Regions from separate parts of the Homo sapiens genome. Here regions 2, 3 and 4 are each linked to region 1. The links are contacts of gene promoters, found by promoter capture Hi-C in blood cells and fetal thymus (Javierre and others, 2016). All regions are on one chromosome and are shown on one strand. The core of a region is centred on a gene start or on the middle of the fragment in contact, and the rest is flanking DNA. Distances in the headings are between cores, read along the strand shown. Region 1 holds the start of TMEM179B (transmembrane protein 179B). Region 2 holds the start of COX8A (cytochrome c oxidase subunit 8A). Region 3 holds the start of NAA40 (N-alpha-acetyltransferase 40, NatD catalytic subunit). Region 4 holds the start of MACROD1 (mono-ADP ribosylhydrolase 1).

Region 1 (3,128 bases), core at 270-2,769:
GGAAGTTATTTGTGCACCGTCAATTCCTATTTCTGGGACAGGGATATTGATGGAGAGGGCCTGCTGGGGAATCACACCGGCAGTGGCCAGAAGGATCAGAAAATAGGCAATGAATATAGAATGCAATGAGCTTCAGAGAAGCCTCACAAGTTATGGTCTCTGTGCAGAAACCTTAGAGTAAACCCAGGCCTTGTATATCCTTCAACAAATAACTATCTGTGAGGTGCTTTTTTTTTTTTTTTTTGCTGGAGTGCAGTGGCGCCATCTCGGCTCACTGCACGCTCTGCCTTCTGGGTTCATGCCATTCTCCTGCCTCAGCCTCCTGAGTAGCTGGGACTACAGGCACCCGCCACCATGCCTGGCTAATTGTTTGTATTTTTAGTAGAGACAGGGTTTCACCGTGTTGGCCAGGATGGTCTTGATCTCCTGACCTCGTGATCCGCCTGCCACGGCCTCCCAAAGTGCTGGGATTACAGGCGTGAGCCACCAGGCCCGGCCAGTGTTTTTGTTTTTGTTTTTGCGATGGAGATTCGCTCGTCACCCAGGCTGGAGTGCAATGGCACGATCTCGACTCACTGCAACCTCCGCCTCCCAGGTTCAAGCGATTCTCCTGCCTCAGCCTCCGAAGTAGCTGGGATTACAGGCATGAGCCACCACACCCGGCTAATTTTTGTATTTTTAGTAGAGACAGAGTTTTGCCATGTTGGCCAGGCTGGTCTCGAACTCCTGACCTCAAGTGATCCGCCTGCCTCAGCCTCCCAAAGTGCTGGGATTACAGGCGTGAGTCACCGCGCCCGGCGGATCTCTGAGGTTTTCTCATGGTGTAAAATAGGCACACTAGTGCCTACTTTATAGGCATTAAATGAACCCATGTTTATTAACCAGATTACCTGGCTGGGGTAAACGATGTAAATTATTGGCTTCTACCTTTACGTCAGCGTTTTCTCCATCTCTCATTTTGTCATTTAACACACTGTGCTACAATCATGTGGCAGCTTGATCATCTCCACTACACTATGCTTTATTTCTCGACAAAGCTCAGCACAAATGGCTTCTGATTTAACGGATGGACGCAGGTTCTGCACTGACTTCTGTTTCGGAACCACAGTAAGGCTGTGCAGCAGGAGCCACGAAACCCGACTCCACCTAGTGCTTTAAGACGCTACTGACCCGTCCCTTTGGCGAGGGGACAACTTCGAAGTATGACCTGGCCAGGAGGAGCCACAAAGCGCGATTAGCCTCGCTGCATTTCAGGTACAGGCCGGCGCCAGCCGTGCCTCACCAGGTCCACCGGCTCCGAGCAGCAGCAAGCCCGGTCGGAAAGCGAAAGTGGCCTCGCCATGTCCAGACCGGCCAGCTCCCCCGCCTACCTGACCCCGCCCCGCAGCCGCACCTGGGTCCGAGTCATCGCCGCGGCCGCCACGGCCCCGCACAGGAAGGCGGCAGCAAAGAGCGCAAGCTCGACGCGCTGCAGCCAGGACAGCGCCATGGCGCCCTGACCACCAGGAAGCGCCGCTGCAGCAGCACCCCGCCCAAAGCCCACCTTATCCGGCGCGACCCACGAAGGTGGAGACGTCATTTCCGGGGGCGGGATTTATTTACAAGGAACGAAGGGGCCACTGACTCAGAGCGGCAAGTACAGCGAGTAGTCCGAGAGCGCCCACCGGCGGGCGGGGCGGCTGGTACGGCCGATCATGGGCAGTTTCTGCACGTAGCGCGAGGCCGGGCTAGGCCCGTACGGCGCGGGGAAGGCAGTCTGGAAAAGGCGCCCGCGGCAGCGCCTCCCAGCCTGCCGCCCGGCTATGATGAAACGAAAGTGCGGGGCGCCGCGCGGGGCGAAACGGCTCTTCTGGAAAACGTCGCGGGTGCCGGTCCCGGGGCCCTGCTGCCGGGGTGCCCCGCGCGCCCGATGCACGCGCGGCAAGGGCCTGCTCTCAGAGGCGGCGGGCCCAGAGGCCGACGCGGGGCCGCCTCCGCCGCTGCCCCGGGGGCTCTCGTCGCCGTGCGGGCTGACTATGGCGCTTGCCGTCAGCTGCGGCATCTTCCGCACCGAGTCCGGGGCTGCCGCCGGCTCCTTCTTGTCCCCGGGCGGCCGCGGAGCCGTGGGTGCAGGCTGGCCGGTGCCAAAGCGTGTGGCCAAGCTGTCACCGAAGAAGGCGTAGAGCTCCCGGTAGATGTCGGCCAGGGTCACCGAAAGAGAAGGGTCCTCCGGCCCCGCGCCCCCTGGCGGCAGCGGGAGGCCGGACCCAAAGCTGGGTTCTGCACCGCCCCCGGAGGACGACTCTTGAAAGAGAAGGCTGTCCCATGGCAGGTCGTCCAGGCGCCGGCACCCCCTGCCACCTGGGCCACCCCTGTTGGGCTCTGCTGCCTGGGCCTTCATCTTCAGCAGTCGCTCTACCGCCACCTGTAAGAGCCAAGGACTAAGATAGGCAAAAAATTCGAGGAACCTGGGCCCATCAAATATTCCAAAGTAAGCCTGCTTGGCTGCTAAGCTCATGCAGGGAAGGGAGGCTGGAAGGGGACGGTACTCACCAGAATGGCTCCATAGACTTTGTGTCCATCTGCTTTGACCTGGGCATTAGATACTGAATAATCATCCAGCACAGCCTGCAAGTTTGTCCAGTAGGTGGACAGGTGTGGGTACAGGACTCGTTCTACTGCCTGGAAGGAAGAGAAGGAATACAGTTAGCATGTCTTTGATACTTATTCCCTCTCAAGGACCCTTTCCCATGAAAGACCTACCTTTATCTCTGATCCTAGACAGGGCTCAATCCTCCTAAATTCCCTGATTGGCATATTCAACCATATATTTATTTGGAACCTACTGTATACCTAAGCTAGGCATTGGGAATAAAGATAAGGTACAAAGGGAGACAATAAAAAATATACCCAATATCACTGCCCTGTGTGCTAAATAATGCTCATTACTGACAACTCCAAAATTTAGTTTGCATACTGCTACCCTATACAATCAGGCAAGTACTGGCTTCACTTAGATGTAAACTGAGACTCAGTTCAAACAATCTGCATAAAAACAACCAACCAGAGACTTGGACTCTGATTATACAATTTAAAATCCTGTGATTGGACAGGCGCTGTGGCTCACGCCTGTAATCCCAGCACTTTGG
Region 2 (3,388 bases), core at 831-3,330, 1.2 Mb before region 1:
GCACCATTTAAAGGTACAGAAGCACACGAGGAGTCCAGCTGAGGCACACAAAACCTACCACAGGGCAGCCAGCCGGGCGCTCTTCTCCACACCTCCACCCAGTGCCAGTGGAGGCATGAGCCCAGGCAGGAGGGAAGGCACAATGAATTTCTGAAGTAAAGTTTAAATAGATTTTATTGTTACAAGGGGGACCCCACCAAGCAGGGTCAGTGACCCCCAAGGAGGTCACCATGGAGACATCAAGAGGTCATGATTGCAGAAGAGGTGACTGGAATTGAATGACATGATCCAGGGGAGGCCGGCCACAAATGCAGTAACATGACCAGGATGGGCCGGTGGGGCTGGTCAGGTCACAGTGTGAGGGACAGAACGGACCCCTTCACTCTGGCCTCCTGTAGGTCTCCAGGTGTGACAGGATCCAGCCCGCTGGCAGGAGGAAGGTCACGAAGCAGGAGGTAAGCCCAACGGCCAATTCCTACACAGAGCACAAGAAAGAAGGCACCTCGGAGTCAGTATTCCCCTAGGCTCTCTAAGTCCTTGCAGTTCCCAGGCAGCAGAAAGCCCCGCTCAGGGAGCCAGGACTCAGAGGCAAGTGGGAGGCCCCGCATCCTCACGTTAAAGGAATCCACGCTCCACGGAGCAGACAGAGCAGGTCCAAAGCTACGCTAACCCTTGAGGTAAAGGGTCAGTTATAAGGAGGGGGAAGAGTGAGAGGAAGGAGAGACAGCTGGGGTTAGGGTTCAGGGAGAAATGCACCACCAGATGGTAAAGGAAGGGACAGGAAGCAGGATTTATTGAAACCTGTTTTAAAGCTGGTCTGGGCCGGGCATGGTGGCTCACACCTGTAATCCCAGCAATTTGGGAGGCCAAGGCGGGCGGATCACAAGGTCAGGAGTTAGAGACCAGCCTGACCAACATGGTGAAACCCCGTCTCTACTAAAAATACAAAAAATTAGCCGGGAGTGGTGGCGGGCGCCTGTGATCCCAGCTACTCGGGAGACTGAGGCAGGAGAATGGCTTGGCTTAAACCTGGGAGGCGGAGGTTGCAGTAAGCCGAGATCGCACCACTGCACTCCAGCCTGGGTGACAGAGCAAGACTCCGTCTCAAAAAAACAAACAACAAACAAAAAAAGCAAAGCCTGTATGTTAAGACCCAGGATCCTTGCATGGGCCAGTAACTCCAAAACGATACCTATCCTTCCTTGCCTGAAAACCCCCTCCCAGGCCGGGCGCAGTGGCTCACGCCTGTAATCCCAGCACTTTGGGAGGTTGAGGCAGGCGGATCACGAGGTCAAGAGATCGAGACCATCCTGGCCAACATGGTGAAACCCCGTCTCTACTAAAAATACAAAATTTAGTTGGGCATGGTGGCACGCGCCTGTAGTCCCAGCTATTCGGGAGGCTGAGGCAGGAGAATCGCTTGAACCCGGGAGTCGGAGGCTGCAGTGAGCCGAGATCGCGCCACTGCACTCCAGCCTGGCGACAGAGCGAGAACCCGTCTCAAAATAAATAAGTAAAATAAAATAAAATAAAATAAATAGCAGTAACAACCATTTTCGTCGCTGACAGCGTCAGGCATCCCCCAGTGAACCAACGAGAAAATGGGCTCAGAGCGGCTAAAGAAGTCGGCAGGAGGCGGCGCAGCGAGGAGGCGACAGGAGAGGGAGGGCCTGACAGGACCAGACCCGAGATCCTGGGGCTGTGGGGAAAGACCTAACGCCGACAGCCCCGACTGTCGCCCGGGCACTGTCCCCGTCGTTCGCGCCCTCCAGACATGCCCAAACCGGCACTGCTGCTCCCCGCTACGCTGCGGGGCGCGAGGCATTCTCAGGACCACCTGAGGTCAGCTAGGCAGAAGGGGTCAGCCCACGGCGCCTCCCGCGCTCTTCCAGGCCCGTTCCTCACCATGATCCCAAGCTTCCCCTCCGGCGGCAACGAATGGATCTTGGCGCGCGGCACTGGGAGCCGCCGGGCCGAGCCTGTCAAGCCCCGCAGCAGCAGCGGCGTCAGGACGGACATGATGGCACGGAGTACACCACAAAAAACGGTCAGCCGTAGCCCAAGGTCAGGAAGCCAAAATGGCTGCGCTGGCCGGAAGTTCTGGAGCTGGGGAAGCAGGGAAACTGCGGCGCGGAAGTCTCTCGGAAATGACGCAAGAACACACCTCCCACAGCCCTTGGCAGTTTTTGGCGCGTTCCTCGAAACAGCCAATTGACACCTTCCTACGCTATGGGCGGAGCACAAAAGGGCTCTTCTTCGAGTTATGTTCCGCCTCCAAGGCTTATACTTGTGAATGACATCTGGGGCCACCCAATCATGTACGCGAGAAGCCTAAACTGTTCTTGACTCCTCCCTTCATTCATACTGTTAAATCTCTCTCTATTCAGGCTGGGCGTGGTGGCTCACGCCCGTAATCTCAGAACTTTTGGGAGGCCGTCTGTACTAAAAAAAAAAAAGTACGGGCTGGGCGCGTTGGCTCACGCCTCTAATCCCAGCACTTTGGGAGGCCGGGGCGGGTAGATCATCTGAGGTCAGGAGTTTGACACCAGTCTTGCCAGCATGGTGAAACCCCATCTCTACGAAAAATACAAAAATTGGCCGGGCGCAGTGGCTCACGCATGTAATCCCAACACTTTGGGAGGCCGGGGCCGGTAGATCATCTGAGGTCAGGAGTTTGAGACCAGTCTTGCCAGCATGGTGAAACCCCATCTCTACGAAAAATACAAAAATTGGCCGGGCGCAGTGGCTCACGCTTGTAATCCCAACATTTTGGGAGGCCGAGGCGGGTGGATCACCTGAGGTCAACAGTTCGAGACCAGACTGGCCAACATGGTGAAACCCCGTCTCTACTAAAAATACAAAAATTAGCTGGGCATGGTGGTGGGCGCCTGTAATTCCAGCTACTCGGGAGGCTGAGTCAGGAGAATTGCTGAACCCAGGAGACGGAAGTTGCAGTGAGCCGAGATTGAGCCATTGCAGTCCAGACTGGGCCACAAGAGCGAAACTCCATCTCAAAAATAAAAAACAACAATAAAAAAAGTTCGAAAGCAGCCTGGCCAACATGGTGAGACTCCATCTCGACTAAGAATACAAAAAATAGCCAGGCATGGTGGTAGATGCCTGTAATCTCAGCTACTAGGGAGGCTGAGGCAGGAGAACTGCTTGAACCCGGTAGGCAGAGGTTGCAGTGAGCTGAGATCACGCCACTGCACTCCAGCCTGGGCGACACAGCAAGACTCCGTCTCAAAAAAAAAAAAAAAAAAAAATCTCTCTATTGAGAGTCCCCTCCTCTCCACCAGGCCTCCGTCGTTTTTGTTGAGAATTCCTGACACTGACCTAGTAACCAAACCTCCCTCAATTACTATTACACTCTTCAATTCCAGTTACC
Region 3 (3,188 bases), core at 589-3,088, 1.2 Mb before region 1:
TTGGTTTTCTACATATGAAGTACGTAATACCCAAAACTATTTGTTAAAACACGATGACTGTTTTGACACGGATTAGACAACTATTTTTGTCTAATAAGTTGATTTGTTCAGTCGATAAATAGTGGAGTGACGGGAAAAAAAAAAACTAGGTTAACAACAGTAGGGACAAACCCAATGGGTTAAAAATAGCACAAATCCATTTTAGATCAGTAAAGTTAAGGCTGAGGATACAGACAAAAATAACAGCCACTACTTAGGAGACACCTCCTTAGCAATCTACATCCATTATCTCACTTAATCTTCACTACTACCCTAAGGGGGAGGTATTAGCATCCCAATTACAGAGGTGAGGAAATTCAAACACATAAAGGCCAACTCACTGGCACACTATTATACCACCAGCAGCGAAGACGGGGCTGGAAGTGAGGTACCTCGGGCTCCAAAGTCAGGGTTCCCTTAAGGTGATGGAAATTCCATGTAAATACTAATATAGGCCTGTGTGGTGGCTCACGCCTGTAATCCCAGCACTTTGGGAGGCCTAGGCGGGTGAATCACGAGGTCAGGAGTTCGAGACCAGCCTGGCCAACGTGGTGAAACCCTGTCTCTACTAAAAATACAAAAATGAGCCGGGCATAGTAGCGGGCGCCTGTAATCCCAGCTGCTGGGGAGGCTGAGGCAGGAGAACCGCTTGAACCCAGAAGAAGGAGGATGCAGTGAGCCGAGATCGCGCCATTGCACTCCAGCTTCGGCGACAAGAGCAAAACTCCATATCAAAAAAAAAAAAAAAAAAAAAAAAAAAGAATACAGCCAATACTAGGAAAAGCGTTATCTTTTTAGGAGGGTGACTGATACTGCTGTAATTGAGACTTAGTAAGGTGAACGCACAGAAACTTGCAAATAACTTCTGCCCTACCCTATATCCCGGGAAAGTAAACTAAAATGCACCTCCAGGCTGCCGGCACGGAACAAGTGGTCAATATCCATCCGCGGCTGGGCCGCCGCCCCCGCCTCCCCGCATCTTCCCCGCACACCTGCACAGCCCTCCCCTTGCAAAAAACACCTGCACTACCAAAACCCCTAACAACCCAAGCGGTCGTAAGAACCATTTCATTGCAACCAGGAGGCGTCGAAGGCAGGAGTCTATGGGAAAGGAAGGCTGTGTTTATCAGGAGCAGCAGGAACCTGGTGGAGAGGTTTCGAAAGAGTGTAGGGGAACCGGCTTCGCTGAGACTCGAGTAACGGGAAGGGCAGTGGACTGGGATTCGGGAGGCCCAAGGTGGGGTCTGACGCCCCCGACAATATGACCTTGGCTAGGCGCCTTCTTTCCTCTGGGCCTCAATTCCCTCCAAGCCAGGGTTGACCTCGGATGTGAAAAGCGACGAAGCTGGTGACAGCCAGGTGATGAGTGACCCTGGGGGAGCGGGAAGCTAACCCCAGGGTCCCCGCGGGGGACGGTGGTGGGGAGGCCAGTAACGGGTCCGCGAAGCAGGAAGGGGCGGGCGTGACGCTGGGGGCGCCGAGGGGGTGGGGCCCCGGACCAGGGGCTCTCCAGAGGATTCCCGGGCTAGGCCTAGCGTAGGGACCCTTAGAATGGGGGAGTCGGGTCATGTGGGGGTCAGGGGTCACGTGAGGCTGGAGGGGGTCGGGGTCACGTGAGAGGGGGGTTTAAGAACAAAGGGGGCGAGGGTAGCGAGGAGCGCCCCTGGACCTCCCATCTCCTCTCTCTGCCTCACTCACCCCCATAGCGGCGGCGACAACGCTCAGCTTCTTCTTCACACACTTGCCGGCAGGGAGGCGGCAACGGCGGTGGCTGCAACAGCGGCGGCAGCAGAGCGGACGGCCCTGCAACGCGCATGCGCCTCGCAGCTTCCCCCCCCCCCCCCGCCCAACCGCGCGCCCTCGTACCGCGCCGGCGCAGAACCGGCGCAGGGCAGCGGTGAGCCGGCGCGCAGGTGGAGCGCCCGCTAGGCTGGCCGAGGGTCTCCGACCAGGAGGAGGCGGGAGCGCGGAGGAGCGTCGCGCCGGGAATGACGTGCGGCCAGAGCCCGCCCCCTCGCAGGGCTGCGTCTGTAACTATGGCAACGGCGGCGCCAGGCCTGGCTGCTCACCCAGGCCGTGAGTCGCGCGCCGCTGGGGGCCGGGTGGTTGGCAGCACCTCCCCTGCGGCCAGCGACTCCTTGGCCCCGCGCGTAGCAGCCGGCGGCACAGCCACCTTCCCAGGCGGCCAATCGCGTCTCGACCTCTAAAGTACCTGCCCCTCCAGAGCCCTAGCGCGCGTAGCGGAAGTCTTTGGAAACTTTCCCACCTTCCAGATCTTGACTCTTGAAATTCCTTTTCTAACCAGAGTCCTGTTACTCATTCATTCGTCTTCTAACCATTCATTCCCCCTCATTCATTCACGTTCTCAATAAAAATTAACTCGCATCTACGCGGTGCTGAGCCCAGGGGGCACAGAGAGGAGCGAGGTGCCATCTCAGCGCCACACCTCAGGGTTTAGAGGGGAGACGGGCACGTAAGCACTGTTTAGGAGAGAGTGGACAGTGCTGTTAGCGTGAACACCAGGCATCCCGGAAAGTTTTAATTTCAACCCATCCCCAGCACACCGGAGTGACCCGCACGTGACCCGAATCCAAACCGCCGGGGGCGCTTCCGCAGTGTGCACACCTCTGCCAACCTCCCCCAGAATCTCCAGGGGTGGAGCCAGAGTCTTCACTTCCTAGTGCTCCCCAGGTAGGGAGCGAAAATTAGTGAAATGCTTCAAGACGAAAATTAGTGAAATGCTGCCCAACACTTAAGCTTCATGGACTTTTTCAGGTTTTGCTCATTATTCCATCTTTTTGTTTTTTTAAGAGACAGGGTCTCGCGGTCGCCCAGGCTGGAGTGCAGTGGTGCAATCACAGCTCACTGCAGCCTCGACCTCCTGGGCTCAAGCGATCCTCCCGCCTCAGCCTCCTGAGTAGCTGGGACTACAGGTGTGCACTACCATACGCAGCTCAATTTTTATTTATTTTTTGTTGAGATGGGGTCTCACTGTGTTACACAGACTGGTCCCAAACTCCTGGGCCCAAGCGATCCTCCCACTTTGGCCTCCCAAAGTGCTAGGATTACAGGCGTCAGCCACTGTGCTTAGCCTCATTATTCCAACTTTAGTGCTCAGTACAGTGGTGGCCTCAACAACATTTATCCAG
Region 4 (3,154 bases), core at 9-2,508, 1.4 Mb before region 1:
GGTAGAGATGAGGGGGTCTCACTATATTGCCCAGGCTGGTCTTGAACTCCTGGCCTCTAATAATCCTCTTGCCTCAGCCTCCCAAAGTGCTGGGATTACAGGTGTGAGCACTTATTCATTATTCATTATTACATTCATTATATTATTATAATGGCCCGGCCTGTATTCATTATATTTATCATAAAGTAATATTAATAGTACATAAAAATATATAAAAGTACTTAAAAATCCATCCTCGTGTTTTTTGTTTTGTTTTCTTTGAGACAGAGTCTCGTTCTGTCACCCAGGCTGGAGTGCAATGGCACGATCTCGGCTCACCGCAACCTCCGCCTTCCGGGTTCAAGTGATTCTCCTGCCTCAGCCTCCCGAGTAGCTGTAATTAACAGGCATGCACCACCACGCCTGCATAATTTTTGTATTTTTAGTAGAGACGGGGTTTCGCCATGTTGGCCAGGCAGGCCTCGAACTCCTGACCTCGTGATCCACCCAACTCGGCCTACCAAAGTGCTGGGATTACAGGCGTGAGCCACCGCGCCCGGCCGGTTTTTGTTTAAAAAAGAAAAGAAAAAAAAAAAAAAACACACAGACACACACAAAAACATCACCCCAATCCTTCCACCCTTGAACGCCACTTGAAGCCTAAGTTTCCTGCCTCCAAATTCCACTATTTCCACCCTCGACTCTCCTCCCCAGCTGTCCTAGATTCTGCTCCAGCTGAGCCTTGGCCCCGGGGCTGTTAGAAGGCAGAGGCTCTGGGGAGAAGTCCCCAAACCGGATTTACCCGTTCGTCGCACCTGTCCCTAGGAGGGCAGGCTGGGGTGTGGAGGCGGTGCCCTGCTGACCCGCGGGGAGAGAAGCCCGGGTCTCCCAGGCTGCAAAACGCTCGGCACTGCGGAAGCCGCGCCAGGCTCTCCCAGCTCGATACGCAGCGGCCGGCGCGCCTGCTCCGCCGCGGGGCCGAGCGGCAGAGGGGCCCGGGGCTGCGTGGAAGGCCCGGGGGCTTCAGCCCGTGCCGGGGAAGCCGACGCTCAGCCAACCAGAAAGTTAGAGGCGGCCGAGGTCTCGCGGAGGGGAGGCGCCTGGCGGCCACGGGAGAAGTCGAAGGGCTCAGGCGGGGCTCCATCCGCGACACTGGGAGCCCGGGCGGGCGCGCACGTGTGTATACGAGTGCGTGGGCCCATCCGGCGGCCCGGACTACAAGTTCCAGGGTGCCCAGCGGCGCTCCCGGGTTTTCTGGCCGCGCCTCCCGCTGGCTCCGAGCAGGTCGCCGCTGGCTGGCAGTCGCCACCCGGTCCCAGAGTAAATAAGGGAGAGACACTCCCGAGCGCCGTAAATAGAGTCCAAGTGGGCGGAGAGCCGTCCCGCGCCGCCCGCTCATGTCTCTACAGAGCCGACTGTCCGGCCGCCTGGCACAGCTGCGCGCGGCGGGGCAGCTGCTCGTCCCCCCGCGCCCCCGGCCCGGACACTTGGCGGGTGCCACGAGGACCCGCAGCAGCACGTGCGGTCCCCCGGCGTTCCTGGGCGTGTTCGGCCGCCGTGCGCGGACCTCGGCGGGAGTTGGGGCGTGGGGGGCGGCGGCGGTGGGGCGGACAGCCGGGGTGCGCACTTGGGCCCCCCTGGCCATGGCGGCGAAGGTGGACCTGAGCACCTCCACCGACTGGAAGGAGGCGAAATGTAAGTGTAAGCACGAGGGGGCGCGAGGGAGAGGGCGGCCTCACGTGGAGCTTCCCGGCTGGGCGGCCCCCAACGAGCGAGCAGCCCCTTCCACCCGAGAGACCTGGGGAAGTTGAGGCCCCATCTGCCCTGGAACGGACCCCTCCTCCCCATTGACAGCCCCCCCCGCCCCCGCGCGTGTTCCCAGCCCCACAGAACAATTCACTCCAGACCAGGTCCAAGTGTCCACGCAGGGGGCAGCGTGAGGAAGGCGGCCTTCCTTACCCCATTGGAATGGGTCACAGGGCACCCCAGAGATTGTGCAGGACCTACCAACTTCCTTCCCTGTGCAGGAGGGAAACTGAGGCCGAGTGCCACAGCTGGCTTCCCCAAGGTCACTCGGAGCTGGTGGCAAAGTGGAGGTTATGATCCCGGACTCTCCAAACTTTGCACAGTGTGGTTCTTAAGTGTTCGGGAATGGGGCTGAGGGAACAGCTCCGGGGCTGGCGTCCCACCTGGTGGGGCACGTAACCTCACAGAGTGACCTTCCTGGGCTGGCCTGTCCTGCCTCCACCCCACCCCAAGCCCGCACTCTGATGCCTTCCTGGGCACGTGGTCTGGCGCCCTTTTCCCCTTCTCGCTGGCCTCTGGCCACTTGTGAGCAGTTTGCTCATGCCAGGAACAGAGGTTAGAGGAGCAGGGCAGAGGTGGGGTCTTGTCCCTGTGACAACTGATGACACCCTTCAAGAATCACACCACTTCCTCTTGCTCCTGGAGGGGGCATGAGTCTGGGGCCTGGGGAGAGAGAGAACCCAAGCTGCCGCTACTGAGCCCCAAATAGCCCTGCCGGGCACCCAGCTGCCCCTGCCTTTCAGGGCCTGCCTCCTGGGATCCTGTGACTCTTCCCGGCTGGATCCCCTTTCAAAAGTGCAGGGAAGTGGCTAATTGGCTGGGCCTCCGTGGTGGAGTAGGTGTGGCCTCTGGGCTGGGCAGGCAGGATGGGGGGGTCCTGCGGTGTTAGGGGTGAAGAGAAGATGGCTTTCTCGGGACCAGAGGTGGAAATCAAAATGATTTACTCCTGACATGAATTGTGTGGCCTGCGCCAGGATCTAAAAGTGACGGCAGAAAGCACCGACTTTAGCCCGTGAGCAGATGGAGAACTTGTCAGGCACTTGGCCCTTGCCCCAGAACAGCAGGAGGAGTTTGGGGCTGGCAGAGACCCCTGGAGGGGGAGCCACTGTCCCCACAGAGACCCCTGCTCCCCTGAGCACTCTCTCAGAGGACAACAACCCAGGAGGGTGGGAAAGAGCTACGGAGACAAGGTGCCCAGGCACCTGCTCGAGGGCTGCCGCTGTTTTTAGGATCCAGCCCCCACAGCCCCACTCCTTGGTGCCAGGAAAGCAACCGGACCTTGTGATGGGGCTGGGGTTCCTGGGCTGCTGTGTTGTCACTGGGGTCTCCCTTTTGCTTCGAGGTGGGATTTCCAATCATGCAGCAAACT

What was found. Contacts are between HindIII fragments. The CHiCAGO score rates a contact against its expected background, and 5 or more counts as called.
Region 2: a contact is called between the fragment with the promoter of COX8A here and the fragment with the promoter of TMEM179B in region 1, in 5 of 17 cell types (non-activated CD4 T cells, fetal thymus, megakaryocytes and 2 more). The highest score is 8.1, in non-activated CD4 T cells.
Region 3: the fragment with the promoter of NAA40 here is called in contact with the fragment with the promoter of TMEM179B in region 1 in 13 of 17 cell types (erythroblasts, naive CD8 T cells, fetal thymus and 10 more); the score reaches 17.6 in erythroblasts.
Region 4: a contact is called between the fragment with the promoter of MACROD1 here and the fragment with the promoter of TMEM179B in region 1, in 6 of 17 cell types (M2 macrophages, non-activated CD4 T cells, total CD4 T cells and 3 more). The highest score is 15.8, in M2 macrophages.

The regions. Positions count from the first base shown.
Region 1 is chr11:62,785,793-62,788,920 of GRCh38, reverse strand. It overlaps TMEM179B (transmembrane protein 179B), which reads right to left and starts at 1,519. Exons shown (of 5, transcript NM_199337.3): 1 at 1,394-1,519. The coding sequence starts at 1,489. TAF6L (TATA-box binding protein associated factor 6 like) reads right to left here. Exons shown (of 11, transcript NM_006473.4): 10 at 2,533-2,661; 11 at 1,579-2,404. The coding sequence ends at 1,625. It also overlaps a transcript of TMEM223 not described here. RefSeq lists a silencer at 1,889-1,998 and an enhancer at 2,249-2,448. The HindIII fragment of the contact is 7,473 bases long and covers 1-3,128 here.
Region 2 is chr11:63,973,312-63,976,699 of GRCh38, reverse strand. It overlaps COX8A (cytochrome c oxidase subunit 8A), which reads right to left and starts at 2,080. Exons shown (of 2, transcript NM_004074.3): 1 at 1,906-2,080; 2 at 157-475. The coding sequence starts at 2,019. The coding sequence ends at 380. RefSeq lists an enhancer at 1,727-2,166. The HindIII fragment of the contact is 5,471 bases long and covers 1,920-3,388 here.
Region 3 is chr11:63,937,652-63,940,839 of GRCh38, reverse strand. NAA40 (N-alpha-acetyltransferase 40, NatD catalytic subunit) reads right to left here and starts at 1,838. Exons shown (of 8, transcript NM_024771.4): 1 at 1,738-1,838. The coding sequence starts at 1,743. RefSeq lists silencers at 1,732-1,917, 1,847-1,926, 2,187-2,236 and enhancers at 1,957-2,096, 2,335-2,835. The HindIII fragment of the contact is 5,806 bases long and covers 1-2,798 here.
Region 4 is chr11:64,164,217-64,167,370 of GRCh38, reverse strand. It overlaps MACROD1 (mono-ADP ribosylhydrolase 1), which reads left to right and starts at 1,258. Exons shown (of 11, transcript NM_014067.4): 1 at 1,258-1,674. The coding sequence starts at 1,377. LOC105369339 (a long non-coding RNA gene) reads right to left here and starts at 1,133. Exons shown (of 3, transcript XR_950187.3): 1 at 782-1,133. RefSeq lists silencers at 872-1,131, 1,392-1,471, 1,602-1,701 and an enhancer at 1,239-1,739. The HindIII fragment of the contact is 18,296 bases long and covers 1-3,154 here.